2 separate regions of the Homo sapiens genome follow, and region 1 is linked to region 2. Evidence: promoter capture Hi-C in human tissues and cell types (Jung and others, 2019). All regions are on one chromosome and are shown on one strand. Each heading gives the region's core, a stretch centred on a gene start or on the middle of the fragment in contact. The rest is flanking DNA. Distances are from core to core; before and after follow the strand shown. Region 1 overlaps FSD1L (fibronectin type III and SPRY domain containing 1 like). Region 2 holds the start of ZNF462 (zinc finger protein 462).

Region 1 (3,745 bases), core at 412-2,911, 1.4 Mb after region 2:
GTGCCAGTGCCCGGAGCTGCCCGTATGGCCACAGCAGCCAGCATGCTAGGCTGTGCACAGTGGCCGGACCCCAAACTCACTCGCTCGCTCACACACCCCTCACTGCTCCATGCCTGGCTCGCCCTCGGCAGGTGTGGGATCCAGGCCAGCAGCATGAGCTAAGCACAGCCTGCCAGGCCAAGTGGGCAGAACAAGCCCAGCCGGCATGAGTGAAACTCAAGGAGAGACACTGCCAGCTACAGAGGTTTCTAGCTGGTTAAGAAACATCCAAAGTATCCTGTGACATTAGAATTATTACTACTATCTTAGTAAAAGTTACTATCATATCTCAACCTATATCTCAACCTTCACTGTAGCAAAATTTTTCTTAATCAGACTCTGGTAACAATCTTTCTCCCCAGTAATCAGTTCTCTATATACTTCAGCTAGGGTAATGATAGCATCACTCTTCCTGATCAGTATTCTTCAATAGCTTCCCATTGTACCTTGGATAAAACTGAAAATCTTTAACATGACCTATAAGATCTCAAATGATCTGTCCACTGCCTACCTCACCTGCTTCATCTCCCCAGACTTCCTCTCCCTTGTTACACTCCAGCTGCATAGCCTGCTATGAATTTATCTAATCTGACTTGCTTTCTACCTAGGAGCCCTCTCACTTATCAGTTTCTCTACCTATAACCTCTGTCCTAAAACATATACACAATGTACTGATAAAACAAATTCCAAAAATGTACTTATAGAATGAGCCCATGTTACATATAGTCATTTCATTTTTTTTTCTAATCAAAGCCTTATGGGTAAAGAAGGGCAAAGACAACTTTCATCTGCCCCATGGGATTCTATCAACCTTAAAGGATGCCTACGAAGGTCTCAGATTTTTATATCAGATCTCAAGCCTCCCGTTACCTTACAAACACTGATGGATAAATAGATAAACAGAGATGAATAAAGGCAATATAAATTATCTGAAGCTTATCTAGAAAATTATATTTTATAAGATTCATGTGGTGACAACTAAAAGTTCTAGGTGACACAGGTCTGAAGACATGTTTTGACAAATGCCAATTCTGCTAGATCATAGTAAAATATATGAGATAAGTCTCCATAGGAAGTCTGCACAGGCAATCTCAGCAAATGTCTTTTGGTGATGTAGCACAATTACCAGGCCCTCATAACAACAACAAAAAAATACAATGATGTGACTATGGATTTAGACTAAGGCAACTGCTACACCAACAAGAAAAAGCATCATATACACCCTAGCCAAGCACAACTGCAACCACTGTTATGGAATGAATCAAAGTAATCTAAGATGTACAAGATATAAGTTACTCTCTTCAACGCAGCACAGCTTAAAGTTATGTTTATAATCATTATCAATCAAGTAAAAGGATAATCAATAGACTGAGCAAAAGAGCACTTTGGTACTCTTAAGTGCCAAGTACTATCTTAAGCTCTATACATATTATTAATTCATTTAATCCTTTCAAGAATCCTATGAAGTAAGTTACTATTATTATCCTCATTTTCCAATGAGGAAGCTGACGCATGGAGAAGTTAAGCAGCTTGCCTAGAATATCAAAGCTAATATGTCACACAGCCAGGATTCAAATTAAGACAGTTTGATTCCTAAGTCTATGCTCTTAAAGGACTACACTGTACTACCTAATAAAACAGAGATCAGAGGTTCATGAAAAGGTCAGAACGGCTAAAGGCATCCAAAGGACTAAGATTTTACTTCAAGATTAGAAATCTGGAACTGATCAACAATCTGGAAACCTGGAACTGATCAACAGGTTATAACCCCAAATCAGAGGGCATCAGCATCCATGTGGTCATAATTAGAGAAATGCTGACATATGGGTTTCCCACCAGCATCTTCTCAGAGGAGGAGAAGACTTCTGAGTCAAATTCTACAGTAGTATTCCAAAAAATCAAGATACAAAAATCTAGAGCCCCTGCAAATACCACAAATAGATCTATAATTTAAGGGGGTCAAACTATTATTATAGCCAATTTAGTTAGTATTTCATTAAGCACCTTCTATGTGCCAGGCACTGTGCTGCTAATATGGAGTAACTTTTTAATCATCAAATCTGATAAAAAAGTAGTATGAGTCTTCACATTTTATGGTTGGAAAAAGGAAAGATTCAAGATGTTAAGAAACTTGTTTTAGGTCACACAGCTATCAACTGGCAGTCATGATTCAAATTCAGGAGGTTGTCCCCAGAACCTCTGCTTTTCAAATCCAGGAGGTTGCCTCCAGAGCCTGTACCCTAGGCTGCCTAAACTGTTGGGGATTGTATGAAATAATCATAGGGTTCCTGCAACCAGAGGAAAGGGATTGATCAAATCAGCATGTAACATTCCTGGAAAATGCCCAATAATGCCACCAGAAATGATGCCACTTGCATCATCCCACACATAGACCTGTCCTTTGAATTAGGTGACTTCATGCTGAACCCCTCCATCGACTCCAGTGGGGATGGCACCAGGTTCAAGAGGCTGAAGAAACCCAGAGCCACCAAATGAGGCATGGTATTTTATTAAGGGATTACATACAAGGGAGAGAGTCCAGTGGTGGCAGGCTGAGCAGGAGAACTGCCTTATATACAGAAAAGGTCCAGTGGCAGTGGGCTGGACAAGGTAACTACACAGCCCAGTGAAGCTCAGAAGACACATTCAGGTGAGTCTGCCATACAGGATCATTCTAATAGTATGCTTAAACTACTGCTGTTAGGTAGGTTTACCATACAGTGATAAAGAGCGGAATCAAGAAAGCGCTATCCAGCTGTTAGCTAGATAATCAGAATCTCACCAGTTATTTTAACAAAAGTATCATGCTCAGATGTGATGCAAGAAGGTGAAAAAAAGAGAACTGGGAAATTCAGGAATCTAATCATAATATACCTAAATGATGGAAGGCTACACCCTCTCTAACAGTGAAACAGTTGAGAACACTACCTGTACACAGATGTAACTGAGACAGCCTACAATCAATTCTGATTGTCTAGCTTACCAGCTGAGAAAAAGTCTAAATGCTAGTAAAAGAACTGGCTGGGGAATGCTGCCTTTCTGCCCTGAACCCAGTTTAAGATATCACAGCATATGAGGAGGTAATCTCCCATCTAGGATTTGAGGAAAATAAAGCACACCAGAGGATAAAGAAGCCTTAACCATGTGCAGTGGCCTTTGAACTGGCTGTTTTACCCAGTAAAGTCAAGGAGGCTCATAGTCGGCCAAAGAAACCAGAGGTCCTACCATTTAATGAAAGAAGGTGGCATTGGAGTGGAGATGCGAGTATTAGTATAAACTAACAACCCTTCTCAAGGGCAACTTGACAATATGTATCAAATAAAATTTTTGAAATAGATATACATTGACTCAGTAATTCCATTTCTAATTTATTGTAAGTGAATAATTAAGGGTGTAAGCAGAGACTTGGCTACAAGGATGCTTATCTGTGATATTTATAACATTAAAAGGTTGGGATCAACAAAAAGATACAACAAAAGGGTACTGTAAAACATGCATACAAAAGAATTCTGTTGAATCATTAAAAGTATTGTAGAATGATTAATATGGAAAAATATCCATAATTTATTATGTGAAATGCAAATTATAGAGCAGCATATATAGCATGATACCATAATTTTAGAAAAGTTTTTATATGCATACCAAAAAACTAGATGGTGACATAAATGTTGAAGAGGTTATCTCTGGGTGGCAGAATTGAGTGGTT
Region 2 (3,754 bases), core at 1,156-3,655:
AACGACCTGAAGAGAAATGGAGAACCTGGAGAAACTGGTGTTAGCCAGTCTTAGAGTTCCTCTGAGATCTTGCAGGATTATTCTTATTATTTTTTATATTTGCAGAAATCAACTCAAATCAGACAATAAAGTCTTGCAATGCATCAAAACATGATGATAACCAAACCCTAGAACTCAAAAAAATCTCAGCTTAGGGCCATCACCATCTTCACAAGGAGGAAATCACATTTCCTGGTGACTTTCAGGAGACCTGGAGCAGCTTAAAGTTGTGTGAAGACCTCAGTGGAACTGTTTTAAGGTTTTTGCCTTGCCTTTCCTGAAGGAGGTCAAAACCCTTCAGGTCCACTCAAAAGGAGAAAAAAAATTCCAAAAGTTTACTTTAAAATGGAAACAAACGCCTCAATAACTTGTGAAAGCACTCTTTGGTGGAGAAAAATCTGAGGAACCCTTAAAAGCCCTCATTTCCTTGCATAATGAATAGACAGTGAGGAACCACCACAAGGTTTCCCTCTGGAAAGAGAGAAGGAGTAGGCAAGCAAGCCTCCTCCTCCTCCAGCCATCACCAACAGAGCTTCAAAATGGAGACATCCATAATTTTATAAACACTTCTCATCTCAGCTTTGTCTCCTGGAAACCCGCTCTCCTCCATTTTCTGGTGGAGTTACAACATGACACGGCTTACCTGACTCAGTTCCCAGCTCTTAACCAAACTAGTCACTTCCTCCAAAAACCTGCAAGCAACCTCCAGAAACAAAACCAAAGCAAACCAAACAGCCAACACAGACACTCAGACACAGCCCCCGGGAGCCCTGGGAGAAAGCCCCAACTGGTTGGTCTTTCCCCATCCCAGACGCGTGCTTAAAAATGAAACTTTTTTTTTTCTTGGTTGGGGAGGAATATAAAAGGAACTCCAGGCAGCCTCCCTCCCTCCCTCTCTGTAGGTTAGAAGCCACAATGAAAAGAAAACGAGGGTTCCTTCAGGAATGGTGAACAGCCTGGAGAATGAACGTGAGAAGGAGCTTTGTGTTTTGGAGTCTGGACTGGAACCAAAGCAGACAGCTTGCAAATGGAGGACAGGGAGATAAAGAAAGGGAAAGAGGGGCTGCTCCAATGGGGGGCGGCTGCGGCTTCCCCTCGTGCCTGGAAGGAGGGCAGACCCCTGGGAACTGCACCAGGAGTGAGACGCCCCCCCAGGCCCCTGCCTTCCTTTCTCCCTTCCTCAGAGGAGAGCCAAGCGTGTGTAATGGCTTCTCCTCTCCAGAAACCGTTGTCCTCCTCCACCAGACGCTTCTGAACCTCCAGCCTGGAGACAGCTCCTCAGCCGCTCCTGAACCTGCGCCCCCCACCCGGCCGGTGCCCCCCGCTCCTCGCCTCTCTGTTCACCAGCAGCACCGGCACCAGCAGCTGCAGCAGCCACCCCCCGACACATCCCGACCCCGCATCCCAACTTCGGGGAGAGGGAGAGAGAGAGAGAGAGAGAGAGAGAGAGAGAGAGAGAGAGAGAGAGAGAGAGAGAGAGAGAGAGAGAGAGCCAAATACCTGAGGAAGAGGGGGGCTGCCAATCCGCACGGCTTTGCCATCGGGCGGGGGACAGGCAGACAGAAGGGGGAAAGGAAGGAGAGGGACAGAGAAAGAAAGAGGTCAACCCGCTCAGGTCGGGGCCGCTCGCACGGAGCTCTCCCTCCTCTGACCCTCGCTCGCTCCCTCTGGCTCTCGGCTCAGGTCTCCGGCCTCCCGCCCTCCGCCCCCCTCTGTCCCTACTCCTGTCCCCACACTCGGAGCATCCGTCCTAAGCCTCCAGCTCTCTTCTCACTCATCTTTCATTTTCTCTTCTCTTCATAGAACTACACGAAATTAATTAAGCCACCGCGCTCACTCCCCCCAGCAGGAGCAGCAGCCAGCAGGAAAAGCACAGCCACCTCCACTGCCACCACTACCACCTTCTCCTCCTCTTCCTCCTCCTCCTCTTCCTCCCTCGCTTCTCCTCCTCCTCTTCCTCCTCCCCCTCCTGCTCTCCCTCCTCCCCCTCCTCCTCTTCTCTCTCGCTTCTTCTCCTCTTCCAACAGCCAGTCCATGCAGGGGACTTCCTCTCCTCCCCGCTCCTCCAACCCTCCTTGGCCGAATGAATGAGCGCGTTTGTGCCTCCACCACCCCGCGCTCTCTTCCCCGGAGCACTCGGACCACCCCGAGGTGGTTGTTAATTGCAGTAACTTACAGAAGAAGCGTCCCGGCGCCGGGAGGTGCTTCGGGTTCTCCAGCCCCACCGCCTCCTTATCCTCTTTCTCTTTCTCCTCTTCCTGCTCGGGTTATTGTTGTGGAAGTTGTTTGGGAGTCTCATGTGCTTCTGCCGGGTCTCAGCAATGGAGGATCGCCATCTTCCCTGCCTTCCTCGGCTCCTCAGACTCGCTGCAGCTGCAGATGACCTGAGATATCCGTCTCTCTCCCTCTCTCTCTCTCTCCCTCCCTCCCTCTCCCTCTCACTCTCTCTCTCCCCTCTCTCTCCTCTTCTCTCTCCTCTCCTCCCTCTCCCTCGCGCGCTCTCTCTCTCTCCCTCCCTCTGTGTCTCTCTCTGAATAATGAGCAACCAGGGGGAGAGAGAAAGCAAGACAGAAAGAGAGAAGGAAGACAATCTTCTCCTGCCACACAAAACGCCGGAGCACCAGGGGGTGCGCGAAGCCTTTCTAATAACAACAACAACGTGCAGCAGAGAGGAAGGAAAAAAAGAAAGAAAGAAAGAAATGAGGAAAAAGGCTAGGGGAAAAAAGAGGAAGAATTATCCAAGAGCTCGAGAAGAGCAGAAGGAGAAGCTGGAGGAGATGCTGAGGCTGCTGCTGCTGTTCCCCCTCCCCCCTGCTGAACCCCAGAAGGAGGCAAGGTGGTTGCAAAGTTAAGGCTGGGACATTGTCTTTGTCACTCAGAGCCAGGCCAGTGAGATGCAAGAGGAGGAGGTGGCGGCGGCAGAGGAGGAGGAGGTGGTGGTGGAGGAGGGGGAGGAAGAGGAGGAGAAGGAGGCAAAGGAGAAGGAGGCAAAGGAGAAGGAGAAGGGGAAGAGGGAGATGAGATGATGAATAAAGACCTGCGGAGAAGGCGGTGCGAGGAGCGCGGCCGCCGGGCCGAGGCGTGCGCGCTCGCGTCCCGGTGGCGCCCGGCAGCCCTGGCCCGCAGAGGAAGCCCCCGGTGAGGACCCTGCCCGGCAGCTCATAGCGCTCCCAACGTCAGCCCTGCCCGAGGCGCCGAGCCCGAGCCCCAGAGGGTCCCTTACTTGCATCCATCTAGAGGCCAACCTTTGCAAAGAACATACGTGGGGAACTGGAGGTTGCAAGTATAAACCCAGATCAACCACGTGGGGCTTTTTAATCCCTTTCCAGCTTGCGGTGTGAGTATTTCCAGTGAAAAGCTCAAATTGTCCATTACTGGCACGTATTTTGAAGTCTTCTCTCCTGAAATAAAGGCTCATTGTGCGTTTTATTTCTTTCCTGATATGGAAGGTGGGGGGGTGGAGGAGGAAAAGAGCCCATCATTCCGAGCTTCGGAACCACCACTTTCTTTTCCTAACTTGTGAAATGTTTTGACTGCGCACCAAAAGAAAAAAAGAACGCCTGCTTAAATAACTTTACACCCTCCAGCCCCGCGTTGTTTGCACTTTCTGGCTGATCATCTAAAGGCTCGGAAAGTAACAATCAGCGCTCTTAATGATAAGGTGTCATGGTGTTGAAGACACGCGAGCCAAGATGAAGCTTTCACACCTTGAATT

What was found. The method cuts DNA at HindIII sites, captures the fragments that hold promoters and counts their contacts. A contact is called where the count stands out against the background at its distance.
Region 1: a contact is called between a fragment that was not itself captured here and the fragment with the promoter of ZNF462 in region 2, in 1 of the 25 tissues and cell types used here (dorsolateral prefrontal cortex).

The regions. Positions count from the first base shown.
Region 1 is chr9:105,454,118-105,457,862 of GRCh38, reverse strand. The region is part of intron 1 of FSD1L (fibronectin type III and SPRY domain containing 1 like); the gene reads right to left. Among named protein-coding and RNA genes, the nearest start is that of FSD1L, 8.0 kb to the right of the region's middle. The HindIII fragment of the contact is 4,090 bases long and covers 1-3,706 here.
Region 2 is chr9:106,861,817-106,865,570 of GRCh38, reverse strand. ZNF462 (zinc finger protein 462) reads right to left here and starts at 2,405. Exons shown (of 13, transcript NM_021224.6): 1 at 2,216-2,405. The HindIII fragment of the contact is 13,314 bases long and covers 1-3,754 here.